Regions from separate parts of the Homo sapiens genome. Here regions 2 and 3 are each linked to region 1. Evidence: promoter capture Hi-C in human tissues and cell types (Jung and others, 2019). All regions are on one chromosome and are shown on one strand. The core of a region is centred on a gene start or on the middle of the fragment in contact, and the rest is flanking DNA. Distances in the headings are between cores, read along the strand shown. Region 1 holds the start of LGALS13 (galectin 13). Region 2 has its middle 9.2 kb from the start of LGALS16. Region 3 has its middle 21 kb from the start of EID2.

Region 1 (4,751 bases), core at 1,377-3,876:
AAGAAATAGAAAAACATTCCATGCTCATAGATAAGAAAAACCAATTATCATTAAGACAGCCATACTGCCCAAAGAAATTTAGATGCAAGGCTATTTGTCTCAAACTATGAATGACATTCTTCACAGAATTAGAAGAAATATTATTTTAAAATTTAAATGGAACCAAAAAAATGCCAAATAACCGGGGCAATTCTAAGTGAAAAGAACAAAACTGGAGGCATCAAATTACCCAACTTCAAAATATACTACAAGGCTACAGTAACCAAAACAGCATGGTATCGGTATGAAAAGAGACACACAGACCAATGGAACAGAATGGAAAGCCCTAAATAAGGCCACAAACCTACAACCATCTGGTCTTCAACAAAGCTGACCAAACAAGCAATGGAAAAAGGACTCCCTATTCAAGAAATGGTGCTGGGAGAACTGGCTAGCCATATGCAGAAGATTGAAACTGGACCCCTTCTTTACACCATATACAAAAGATAGATTAAAGACTTAAAAGATTAAACCCAAAACTATAAACATCCTGGAAGACAACCTAGACAATACCATGTGGGACATAGGCATGAGAAAAATTTCATGATGAAGATGTCAAAGGCAATTAGGAGAAAAGCAAAAATTGACAAACAGAATCTAATTAAACTAAAGAGCTTCTGTACAGTGAAGGAAACTATCAAGAGAGTAAACAGACAGCCTAAGGAATGGGAGAAAATGTTCTCAAACTATGTATCTGAAGAAGGTCTAATATCCGAGCATTTATAAGAAATTTCAACAACTTCACGAGAAAGAAACAAACAAACCCATAAAAAAGTGGGTAAAGAGCTTGACACAGTGGCTCATGCCTGTAATCCCAGCGCTTTGGGCAACCAAGGCTGGTGGATCACTTGAGCCCAGGAATTTGAGAACAGGCTGGGTAACATGGCAAAAACCCATCTCTACTAAAAATAGAAAAAAAAAATAGCCTAGCATGGAGACATGCACCTGTAGTCCCAGCTACTCAGGAGACTGAGCTTAGAAAAATCACCTGAGCCCCGGAGCCAGAGGTTACAGTGAGCCAAGATGGTGCCACATCACTCCAGCCTGAATGTCAGAGTGAGACCTGTTTTAAAACAACAACAAAAAAGTTGAGCAAAGGACACGAACAGACACTTTTCAAAAGTAAGGATACAGGTGGCCAAAAAACATATAAAAAAGCTCAATATCACTGAACATTAGAGAAATGCAAATCAAAACCACAGTGAGATACCATCTCACACCAGTCAGAATGGCTGTTATTAAAAAGTCAAAAAAGGACAGATGCTTCAAGGTTGTGGAGAAAAGGGAGAACTCACACATTGTTGGTGACAGTGTAAATTAGTTCACCCATTGTGGAAAGCAGTGTGGTGATTCCTCAAAGAGCTAACAATAGATCTACCATTCAACCCAGCAATCCCATCACTGGGTGTATACCCAGAAGAAAAGAAATCATTCTGCCATAAAGACATATGCACATGAATGTTCATTGCAACACTATGCACAATAGCGAAGACACAGAATGAACCCAAATGCCAATCAATGACAGATCGGTTACAGAAAATGTGGTACATGTACACAATGAAATACTATGCAGTCCTAAAAAAGAATGATATTATGTCTTTTGCAGGAACATGGATGGAACTGGAGGCCATTATTCTTAGCAAACTAATGCAGGAACAGAAAACCAAATACTGCATGTTCTCACTTATCAGCGTGAACTAAATGAGGAGGCTCATGGACATCAAGAGGGAAACAACACACACTGGGGCCTCCTTGAGGGTGGAGGATGAAAGGTGGAAGAGGAGAAAAAAAATAACTTTTGAGTACTACACTTAGTAACCAGGTGAAGAAATCATATACACCACAAATCCCATGACACGACTTTATCTGCATATGTACCCCGAACCTAAAATAAAATGAAAGAAAAATCAAATAAAAACAACAATCTCACCTTCCTCCCAGAATCTGCAGGAGAAACAGTGTCTCTGAAACTTTTATTTACATGGACACCAAGAGAAAGGAGAGGGTGTAGCTAGAGCCCAGGTGTGTGACAGTCAGGTGAGAGTGGCCCTTACCTGGCAGAGCCAAGCAGCCTAGTGTGGAATAGGTTCATGCAAGAAATTTCTCTGCTTCTCTCCACAGATCCTCCTGAGGATCAAGGTCAGTGCTCTCCCAGAACGTTCAAAAGCAGAGAGAATCATTACCTTCTAGGGCTAATGTATTTCCCCAAAATCTCCAACTTTTTTCTTTTCAGCCGTTGTACAAATTGGGAAAATGTACACTTTCTGGGTATATTCTGCATAGATGAGAAAAGGCTTGAGAGGCATAAAGGCTGGGCTTTACAACCACTACCGCTCACTCCATCATCTTTATCTATGCATTTCCCTGGTAACCCAATCCACAGCCTGGTAACTCCCCCACTGTCACTTCTGCTGCATTACAGATACAGACCTGCAAATAGCTATGGTTGTGACTGAGTTTCTTCCTAACAACTAAACCTGTCTAAAGCTGCAAGGAAATCTTGCTGGGAGGAGCTTGGAATCTGGAATGAAGCCCGAGGGCAAGGCTGAAGTGGGTCATTTAAATGCTGCAACTCAGAGATTCACTCAGAAGACTGGACTCAATTCTGAAGGTCGCCAAGAAGGAGAGAACAATGTCTTCTTTACCCGTGAGTTGAAAAGGCACAGCCTTCAAAAATTTCGTGTCACACAAACCAAGAAAGAAATGGGAGATTTTATGAGATGAAAATATGAGCATTTTTGCTGTGAATGCTTTACTTAGAGCTATTGAGGTGTGGAATAGAAACCCTGAGGCTATGGTATCTGAGATGCTTGTGGGGATTGCGGTGTGGACCCTGGACCAGTGTAACCTTCGGTGAGTGTGAGGTGGTGTCTGATGAGCATAAACTCTGCGGAGATAATGTGACTTTAAGTGGGAGGTGGATTACCCACCAGGACGAGCAGGTGTGTGAATGGAGAGTAAAGGGGTGAGTCGGCTTTGTTTCCTGTCTATGATGTGAGTATGTGTGTGAGCACAGCCAGACCAGTGCATGAGCATCGTTATGTGCACAGTGAGCAGGTGTGTGTGACGCAGTGAGTGGTGTGGCTCTGTGTGACTGTGAGTGTGTGTGCTGGGATGTGACTGTATGTTGAAGTGGGATCATGCATGTGGCTTTCTTCACATGTGAATGTTTCTCCCCACACAGCAGCACCTCTGATGTGAATCCCATGTGGCTTAACTGGTGGGGATCTTGGGGATTGTGAGTTACCAAGGACTTATTTCAGATCACTTGTGAGAGCAGAATGTATGATCAGTAGATGTCTCTTCCCAGTAAGAGTGGGGAAGAGGAATGCAGACTATGGGGGTGATGGTTCCTCAGGTGGGGTCTGCACAGAGTGACCACTGTCTCTTGCCTCCCAGGCTCAGCTTGCCTGTCCCTAGCCCATCCAGTTCTTCCCACTGTGTGACAGGAGGGTGTGCAGATACTGGTTTGTTAGGGAAGGACATTAGAGGCCGTGATTTCAGAGACTGAATCACACAAAATATCCACTGTAAGCTCTGTCTGAACTGAGACTAAACTTGTTCTACACCCATGAAAGAACAAGTTAAGTCTCAGTTCAGAAGGAGCTTACAGTGGATATTAATCAACCAAGCAGCTGGGTTCACTGGCTTATGGCTATAATCCCACCAATTTTGGAGGCAAAGATGAGAGGATAACGAGGCCAGAAGTTTGAGACCAGTCTGGGTATCAGAGTGAGACCCTTTCTTTAAAAAACTTTAAATATTTGACTGGCAGAGAGGCAGGTACCTTTCTTCCCAGCTATTCAAGAGGGAGCAGATGTGTGAGATTCACTGCAGCCCAGGAGTCTGAGGTTTCAGTGAACCATGATTGCATCCCTGCATGTCAGCCTGGGTGACAGAGCAAGAACCTATCTCAAAAGTACAGAAAAATCATCTCATCTACTTGTAGTCATCATAGAAATCAATCATTCCCTCCAGTTATGTCCCTGACCCACAAGCTTCATTTGTGCAAGTACTGGGGCTGTGCTCTCAGTAGTGTGTGCCCCTTCTTGGAAGGATGTCCATGGCCCTTGATGATAGTGATGCATGTGCATCCCACACACAGGGGTTTCCTGTTCTTTCATCATTTCCCTCTCCCTTTCAACAAGTGTTGTTTCTCACTGGAGTGAATGTTTAAATTCTTACATTTACAAGTCTTGTTTTAATTTTCAGAGTTGAAAATGAAGGCAGGTCAGTCTTTCAAGAGGACTCTCCTGTCCTGTTAGGTCACCCTAAGAGGCCCTACGCATGACAGGGATTAGGGTAACACTTTTACATGTATTAACTCCCTATTACGGAGAACATCCTACAAAGTAGAAATTCCTGATAATCCTCGTTGTCCTAGGGAAAATGAGGGAGAGTTCAAGTAGCAAATCTAAGACTGCACTGCTAGTAAAAGGCAGAATGAGGACTGGAATCCAGGCATCCTGGCTCCTGAACCCTTGCTCTAACTTATGGGTCCGCCATATCTTCAGGAATATGGGGCCCTGAATGCGGTAGGGTTAAAGAGGAGAGTCCACAGAGTCTGCCCTTTCATCTCCAACCTCCTGCACCATGAGAATATGTTACAGGAGGGGAGACTGCACCTGACCCTGCACCTCTCACTTACTCTCAATACTCTGGCAGGTGCCATACAAACTGCCTGTGTCTTTGTCTGTTGGTTCCTGCGTGAT
Region 2 (4,751 bases), core at 893-3,392, 62 kb after region 1:
GACAATACTCTCAACTCCCCATTTGAATAAAGGAGAGCATCTGATCTCTGTTCTGGGGCACCGTGCACTATAGGTGTGTGGAAATACAGATGCCCTCAGCTGTGGGGTAGGCTCAGTGGGACCTGGAGTGCTGGAGCCCCTGGGCCATTCACCTCTGGCTACAAAAGTCATTGTCTATTTATCCCCAGCTGCTATAGAAATATTATTTTCAGTGGCTGTCATGATGCAAAAGAAAAGAAGCATGGAGATTTATTAAACCTTTACATATAAGTTATGTTAGTAAATAAAGTGAACTTTCTTCTGGCTTAACTAAAAAATCTATAGTAGTATTTATGCCTTTTGGAAAATAGAGATGGCAATTTAAATATTATGAAGCAAAGCAACTGATTATCAGGTAAGACAACCAACTACAACTGCAGAATTGTAGAGGTTATGGGTTAAATGTATAAGAATATTTCATAGCAATAATCTTTTAAGACTATGCAAGAGACTCCACAGTGGAGTAGAAATTAGAACAGAATTAATAATACTGTGTATGCTCTCAGTTCACCAATTTATCAAAACTAGCTTTATGATGCAGGAGGGTGTCTGCCCTTTTGCAATTGGAAGAAAAGAAAGAATATTTCATTTTTCGACTCTTTAGATTTTCTTCACTAACAGTATTTCCACAGCTAAGTAAGGGATTTGCAAGTAGCATCAAGAGAAAAAAGCAGGCTTGAGCAGCTTTTAAAATATGGTCTTAAAATATGGAAATTGGAGCCATGTGTGGTGGCTCACACTTGTAATCCCAGCACTTTGGGAGCCTGAGGTGGGAGGATTGCTTGAGGTCAAAAGTTTGAGACCAGCCTAGGCAGCATAGCAAGATCCCCATCGTTACAAAAAATAATAATTTTTTAAAAAATCAGCTGGATGTGGTGGTGCATGCCTTAGAGTCCTAGTTACTTGGGCGGCTGAGGTAGGAGGAGCTCTTGAGCCCAAGAGTTCAAGTCTGCAGTGAGCTACAATTGCACCACTGTACTCTAGCCTGGGAAACAAAGTGAGACTCTCTCTCTCTCTCTCTCTCTCTCTCTCTCTCTCTCTCTCTCTATATATATATATATATATATATATATATATATATACACATACACACACACACACACATACATACATATATATGTATGTATATATACACATATATATGTATGTATATATACACATATATATGTATGTATATATACACATATATATGTATGTATATATACACATATATATGTATGTATATATATACATACATATACATACATATATATGTGGAAAAGGGAAGGGGCCAAGAATGTCAAAGACATTATTAAAGAAAAGGAAAGATTTCTCCTGCCAAATATCAGAAGTTTTATAAAGCTACAGCAATTAAGATAGTGTGGTCTTCATTGATAAACTGACCAATGAAACAGAATAGAGAGCTCCCAAACAAATCTCCACAAATTTAATATTTGATATGTGATGCAGGTGACATGGCAGATCAGCAAAGAAAGAAAGGACTTTTCAATACATAGGAAAGAAAAATAATGGTTACTGATATAGGAAACAAAATGAAATTATATTCCTTCTTCGCTCTATATACAAACATTAAATTCCAGATGGACCAAAGACTTATGTGTCAGAAACAAAACTTTAAAACTTTTAGTAGAAAATGTAAGTGAATGAGACACAAAAAGCCATTTAACCATTAAAAAAGATTAGATGTTTTGACTATCACAAAATTGAGAACTTTTTACATCAAAAAGTGAAAAGATAAGCTGGGCATGGTGTCTCAAGCCTGTAATCCCAACAGTAGATCACCTGAGGTCAGGAGTTTGACACCAGGCTGGCCAACATGGTGAAACCCTGTCTCCACTGAAAATATAAGAAATTAGCCAGGCATTGGTGGCAGACACTAGCAATCCCAGCTACTTGGGAAGCTGATGCACGAGAATCTTCTGAACCCGGGAGGTGGAGGTTACAGTGAGCCACTGCACTCCAGCCTGAATGGCAGAGTGAGACTCTGTCTCAAAAAAAAAGTAAAAATTAAAAAATAAAAGTAAAAAAGTGAAAAGATAAACTATAAACTAGAAGAAGATATTTGCAGTACCTAAAACCTATGAAAGATTAATATCAAATCAACAAAGTATAAGGAGTTCCTATGAATTAATTTTAAAAATAGCATCCCAAAAGAAAATTGGGAAAAGACATTAATAGGGATTTCACAAAAGAGAATGCCCCCAAAACATAAAAATTTTCTCATCCTCATTAGTAATCAAGAAAATGCACAAGATACTACATATCTATTCGCTCCACAAATATTAAGAAGTTTGACAATACCAAATGTATTAGTCGACATTCACGCTGCTGATAAAGACATAACTGAGACTGGGAAGAAAAAGAGGCTTAATGGATTTATGGTTCCACATGGCCAAGGAGGCCTCAGAGTCATAGCAGTGGATGAAAGGCACTTCTTACATGGCAGTGGCAAGAGAATATGAGAAGGAAGCAAAAGACGAAACCCCTGATAAACCCATCAGATCCTGTGAGACTTATTCACTATAACAAGAATAGCATGGGAAAGACCAGCCCAAGGGATTCAACTACCTCCCCCTGGGTCCCTCCCTTAACACATGGGAATTCTGAGAGATACAATTGAAGCTGAGATGTGGGTAGGTACATAGCCAAACCATATTAATCTGCTCCTGGCCCCTCCAAATCTCATGTCCTCACATTTCAAAACCTATCATGCCTTCCCAACAGTCCCCCAAAGTCTTAACTCATTTCAGCATTAACCCAAATGTCTGCTGTCCAAAGTCTCATCTGATAAAAGGCAAGTCTCTTCTGCCTATGAGCCTGTAAAATCCAAAGCAAGCTAGTTACTTCCTAGATACAATGGGGGTACAGGTAATTGAGTAAATACAGCTGTTCCAAATGGGAGAAATTGGCCAAAACAAAGGGGTTACAGGCCCCATGCAAGTCCTAAATCCAGCCAGGTAGTCAAATTTTAAAGCCCCAAAATGATCTCCTTTGACTCCATGTTTCACATCAAGGTCATGCTGATGCAAGAGGTGGACTCCCATGGCCTTGTGTAGTTCTGCCCCTGTAGCTTTGCAGGGTATAGCCCACCTCCTGGCTGTTTTCATGGGCTGATGTTGAGTGTCTGAAGCTTTTCCAGGCTCATGGTGCAAGGTATCTGGGGTCTGGAGGACAGTGTCCCTCTTCTCACAGCTCCACTAGGAAGTGCTCCAGTAGGGACTCTGTGTAGGGGCTCTGATCCTTCCACATTTCCCTTCCACATGGCCCTAGCAGAGGTTCTCCATGAGAGCCCCACCCCTGTAGCAAACTTCTGCTTGGACATCCAGGCGTTTTCATACATCCTCTGAAATCTAGGTGGAGGTTTCCAAATCTCAATTCTTGACTTCTGTGCAGTTGCAGGCTCAACACCAGGTGGAAGCTGCCAAGGCTTGGTGCTTGCACTCTCAAAGCCATGGCCTGAGTTCTATGTTGGCCCCTTTCAGCCATGGCTGGAGTGGCTGAAACACAGAGCACCAAGGCCCTAGGCTACACACAGCACAGTGATCCTGGGCCCGGCCCACAAAACCATTTTTTCCTTGTAGGCCTCTGGGCCTGTGATGGGAGGGGCTGCTGTGATGATCTCTGACATGCCCTGTAGACACTTTCCCCATTGTCTTGGGGATTAACATTCAGCTTCTCACTACTTATGTGAATTTCTTCAGGCAGCTTGAATTTATCCTCAGAAAATGGCATTTTCTTTTCTATCACATTGTCAGGCTGCAAATTTTCCAAACTTGTATGCTCTGCTTCCTTTATAAAACTGAATGTCTTTAACATCATCTGAGTCTCCTCTTGAATACTTTACTGCTTAGAAATTTCTTCCACCAGATACCCTGAATCATCTCTCTCAAGTTCAGTGTTCCACAGATCTCTAGGGCAGGGGCAAAATGCTGCCACTCTTTTTGCTAAAACATAATGAGAGTCACCTTTGCTCCTGTTCCCAACAAGTTCCTCATCTCCGTCTGAGACCACCTTAGCCTGGACCTTATTGTTCATAACACTATCAGCATTTTGTCAATGCCATTCAACAAGTCTCTATGAGGTTCCAAATTTTCCCACATTTTCCAGTCTTCTTCTGAGTCCTCCAAACTGTTCCAACCTCTGCCTGTTACCAAGTTTCAAAGTCGCTTCCACATTTTTGGGTATCTTTTCAGCAGCACCCCACTTCACTGGTACCATATTACTGTATTAGTCCATTTTCACACTGCTGATAAAGACAAATTCAAGTCTGAGAAGAAAAAGGGGTTTAATTGGATTTACGGTTCCACATGGTGTGGGAGGCTTCAGAGTCACGGCAGGAGGCAAAAGGCACTTCTTATATGGCAGCAGCAAGAGAAAATGAGGAGGAAGCCAAAGCAGAAACCCCTGATAAACCCATCAGATCTCATGAGACTTATTCACTATCATGAGAATAGCACAGGAAAGACTGGCCCCCATGATTCAGTGACCTCACCCTGGGTCCCTCCCACAACATGTGGGAATTCTGGGAGATAGAATTCAAGCTGAGGTTTGGTTGGGGATACAGCCAAACCATATCAACAAATATGGAGAGACTGTGGATCAACAAGATCATCTCGAATTAATACAGGAGGTGAGAGTTTAAATTAGAACAACCACTTTGGAAAATAATTTGGATTATCTTATAAAAATGAGCATTCTTCCAGGAGCTGGTT
Region 3 (4,751 bases), core at 1,614-4,113, 41 kb before region 1:
CAGGAAAAAGAAGAGGGAAGCTCATATGCTCTTCGCCCTCAGTTCAGGAATGGGGGGTGAACCATTTCATTTCTGGAAATGCTGAGACCCAGATTTAGCAAAGACCAATTTCCTCATTTAAAGGGTGCACCCACATGACCATGCCCTCCTCCTATCCTCCTTCCTGACTTAATGGGAGAAGTCGTGTCACAGAGGAGGGGCTGAAGCCTCAAATAATGGACAGGGCAGTCAGTACTTTTCAGAGCGTAAGTCTTGGTCAGAGATAAATAGAAGGCAAACCCTTTGATCAGGATACACAATGACATGGCTTCATGACAGGCATGCCAAATACATTTCTGTTTGTGATAAATCATGGAGTCTGTTATAGCAGCACAACGTAGACTGAGGTGGAAGTGAAGTCCAGGAAGCTGGGCTGCACAGCTCCTCATCCTCATTCCATCATTTCCATCTGTGCATTTTCCTGGTGATTCCCTGCCCCTGGCACATTCCTCACTGTCATTTCTGCTGCATCACAGTCACAGGCCTGCAAACAGAAACTGAGTCTCTTCCTGTCACCCCCTGCTCACACTGCTGGGAAATCTTGCTAGGAAGGGCTTGGAAACAGGAATAAGGCTGGGTGTGGTGGCTCACACCTGTAATCCCAGCACTTTGGTAGGCCAAGGCAGGTGGATCACGAGGTCAAGAGATCGAGACAATCCTAGCCAACATGGTGAAACCCCGTCTCTACTAAAAATACAAAAATTAGCTGGGCCTGCTGGCATGTGCCTGTAGTGCCAGCTACTCGGGATGCTGAGGCAGGAGATGAACCTGGGAGGAGCGGAGGCTACAGTGAGCCGAGATCGGGCCACTGCACTCCAGCCTGGTGACAGAGAGAGACTCCATCTCAAAAACAAACAAACAAACAAAGAAAAAAAAAACAGGAATAAAGCCAGAGGTCAGGACCAACAGGGACCATGTAAGTGCTGCAACTCAGACATTCACATAGAAGACCGGACACTATTCCGAAGAGCTGTCCAGTGGGAGAAAACAATGTCACCGCTATGTGTAAGTTGAAAGGCACGGCCTTCAATAACCTCAAGTCACATAAACCGAGAAAGAAGCATAGACGATTTTATGAGATGAAAACATGATCACATTGGATGAAATATTCTGTAAGTATCTATTAAATCCATTTCTTCTATAGTAGGGATTAACGTTCTTTGTTTGTATTGTCTGGAAGACCTGTCCAATGCTGAAAATGAAACATAGAAATCTCCAGCTATTATTGTATTGGGGCCTATCTCTCTCTTTAGTTCTAATAATATTTCCTTTATATACCTGGGTGCTCCACTCTTTGGTGCACATATATTTAAAACTGTTATATCTTCTTGCTGAGTTGATGTCTTATTCATTATATATTGACTTTATTGTCTCTGCTTAGAGTTTTTGTCTCAAAATATATTTTGTCCAATATAAATATAGCTACACCTGTTTTGTTTCATTTCTATTAGCATGGAACATCTTTTTCTATTTCTTTATCTTCGGTATATGTGTGCCTTTATAGGTGAAGTGTGTTTCATGTAGGCAACAGATCAATTGTTTTTGTTTTTTCATCCATTCAGCCACTCTATGTGTTTTGATTGGAGAGTCTAGTCCATTTTCATTCAATGTTTTCATTGATAATTAAGTAAAGACTTAGTCCTGCCATTTTGGTGTTTGATTTCTAGCTGTATTTTGGTCTTCTCTTCCTTTGTTTCTTACTATCTTTCCTTACTGAAGATAATTTTGTCTGGCGATACAATTTAGTTTCTTGCTTTTTATGGTTTGTGTTTTTTTTTGTGAATCCATTGTATGTTTTCTGGTTCAAGGTGACCATGAGGCTTGCAAATACTATTTTATAACCCATTATTTTAACATGATAGCTACTTAACACCCTTTACTTAAAAAAAACAAGCAACAAGAAAACTTATAGAAACTCTATACTTTAACTTCATCCCCCCGCCTTTTAACTTTTAGTTATTTCTGCCTATATCTTATTTTACTGTGTATATCTTCAAAAGTTGCAGTTATTATTATTATTATTGGTTCATTGTTTAGTCTTTCTATTTAGGAAATGAGTAGTTTACACATCACGGTTACAGTGTTATAATATTGTGTGTGTTTCCACTAAAAAATCTGCTGCCAGGTGTATTGCAGCTGCATTGTATGCTATTTTTTTTCTTTGGGGCTTGCAGGATTTTTTCTTTGCTCTTGACCTTTGAAAGTTTGATTATTAAGTAGCTTGAATTAGTCTTCTTTGGGTTAAATTGTCTTGGTGTTCTATAACCTGCTTGTACTTGGATATTGATCTCCTTTTCCAGGTTTGGGAAGTTCTCTGTTATTATTCTTTTAAATAAACTTTCTACCACTATTTCTTTCTCTACTTTTTCTTTAAGGCCAGTAACTCTTAGGTTTGCCTTTTTGAAGCTATTTTTCTAGATCCTATAGCCATGTTTCATGGCTTCATTGTTTTTTACTCCTTCTTCTTTTGTCTCCTCTGGCTGTGTGTTTCAAATAGCCTGTCTTCAAGCTCACTAATATTTTCTTCTGCTTGATCAATTCTGCTGTTAAAAGACTGATGCATTATTCAGTATGCCAATTGCATTTTTGTATTTTATTTTGCTTTATGTTCTGGGATACATGTGCAGAACATGCAGGTTTGTTTCATAGGTAAACATGTGCCATTGTGGTTTGTTGCACCTATGAACCTGTCACCTATGTATTAAGCTCCACATGTATTAGCTGTTTGTCTTGATGCTCTCCCTCTCTTTGCCCCCACCAACAGGCCCCAGTGTGTATTGTTTCCCTCTCCGTGTCTGTGTGTTCTAACTGTTCAGCTCCCATTTATGAGTGAGAACGTGCAGTGTTTGGTTTTCTGTTCCTATGTTAGTTTGCTGAGGATGATGGCTTTGAGCTTCATCCATGTCCCTGCAAAGGGCACGATATCATTCCTTTTTATGGCTCCATTTCTCAGCTCCAGAACTATTGTTTGAGTCCTTTTAATTATTTTAAACTTTTCGGTTAACTTATCTAATAAAATTCTGAATTCCTTCTCTGTGTTATCTTGAATTTATTTGAGTTTTCTTAACACTGCTAAATTAAATTTCCTGTCTGAAAGGTCTCTGCTTCTCCCTGGTGCTTATTTAGTTTATTTGGGGAGATCATGCTTTCCTGGATAGTGTTGACACTAGCAGATGTTCTTCAGTGTCTGATCATTGAGTAATTAGGTATTTAGAGTGGTCTTCACTGTCTAGGCTTATTTGTACCTGTCCTTTTTTTGAAGGCATACCAGATATTCCAAACACTTGAATGTTTTGATTTAAGCTGTATCTCCTTTGGGGTGAACTAAAAACCAGTAATGTTGTGATTCTTGCAGACTCATACAGTTACCACCTTGATGATCTTGGACAAGTTCCAGGATAATTCTCTGGATTACAATGCGGAGACTTTTGCCCTTTTCCCTTTCTTTCTCCCCCCAAAAAAACAGTGTGTGTGTGTGTGTGTGTGTGTGTGTGTGTGTGTGTGTTTTGAGACACCTAAAGCTGGGGATAGACTAATAAAAGCACCGTTGTGGTCACCACCACTATGACTGGGTCAGACCTGAATCCAGTATAGCACTGGATCTCACTGAAGGCCTTCTGTATCCACTCCCTGGTTGCAACCTAAGTTCACTCAAGGCCCTGGGACTCTGGAAGCAGCAGATGGCAGAGCAAGCCAGGTCTGTGTGCATTCCTTCAGGGCGGTGAGTTCCCCTAGGCCTTGGGTGGGTCCAGAGGTGCCACCTGAAAGTTGGGGACTAAAGTCAAAAACCTTAGAAGTCTGTATGGTGCTTTTATTTTACTGCAGCAGAGCTGGCACTCAAACCACAAGATGCAGTTCTTCCCACACTCCTCTTTCCAAAGGCAGTGGTCACCCCATAACCATTGCCACAATGAAGAGTATGGCCAGACTACCACAGATGTTTCCTTAAGGCCCACAGTCTCTTAAGTCAACTCATAGTGAATGCTGCCAGGCCCAGGACTCATTCCACAGGGCAATGAACTCCGTCTGGCCCAAAGCAGGTAAATAGATGTCATCCAAGAACCAAGTCCCTGAATTAGGGGTCCCAAGAGCCTGCTTGGTGCTCTACTCCCTTGTGGCCATGCAGGTACCTAAGGTGCAAGATGAAGTCCCTTTTGCTTTTTTCTCTGCTTTTACCAAGCAGAAAGAGTTTTTCCTCATAGCCACCACAACTGGTAATGTGCTGTGTCCCATCTGAAGCCAGCAGATCTTAGAAGCTCATCCAAGACCCTCAGCATAGTACCTGGGTATTGCTGATACCATTAGCAGGTGATAACTCTCCTCTCCTCAAGTGAAAGGAAGGGGTCTCTTTTAGAGCCACAGACTGTGCATCCTGGAGTTAAGTGAGGGGTAAAGCCAGCACTCCATTAGTCACCAAAGCTGCTGTCTCAGTAAGTCACCTGACCCCCTCTTCACCAGTCCATTGTCTCTGGGCCCAGTTCAACCCCATGACTCACCTAAGAATTTCTGGCCTTATGGCCTAGACTGCCTTTTAAGCTTACTTGAAAAACCAGAGTACCGTAGCTCTCACTGGCAAGGTTTGCAGGAACTCAAGTTTCAACCGCTGGGATCAGGGATTTTCCTCTGGCTAAGCCTGGCTTAAATGCTCCCTCCATTGGTGTGTGTCAGCTGAGTTTGATCCAATTTGCCTTTCTTCTGTAACAGGACAGCAA

The links. The method cuts DNA at HindIII sites, captures the fragments that hold promoters and counts their contacts. A contact is called where the count stands out against the background at its distance.
Region 2: a fragment that was not itself captured here is called in contact with the fragment with the promoter of LGALS13 in region 1 in 1 of the 25 tissues and cell types used here (bladder).
Region 3: a contact is called between a fragment that was not itself captured here and the fragment with the promoter of LGALS13 in region 1, in 2 of the 25 tissues and cell types used here (H1 embryonic stem cells and lymphoblastoid cells).

The regions. Positions count from the first base shown.
Region 1 is chr19:39,599,898-39,604,648 of GRCh38, forward strand. LGALS13 (galectin 13) reads left to right here and starts at 2,627. Exons shown (of 4, transcript NM_013268.3): 1 at 2,627-2,686; 2 at 4,705-4,751. The coding sequence starts at 2,672. The HindIII fragment of the contact is 10,640 bases long and covers 1-4,751 here.
Region 2 is chr19:39,662,704-39,667,454 of GRCh38, forward strand. No RefSeq gene overlaps it. Among named protein-coding and RNA genes, the nearest start is that of LGALS16, 9.2 kb to the left of the region's middle. The HindIII fragment of the contact is 4,209 bases long and covers 39-4,247 here.
Region 3 is chr19:39,559,064-39,563,814 of GRCh38, forward strand. No RefSeq gene overlaps it. Among named protein-coding and RNA genes, the nearest start is that of EID2, 21 kb to the left of the region's middle. The HindIII fragment of the contact is 4,623 bases long and covers 553-4,751 here.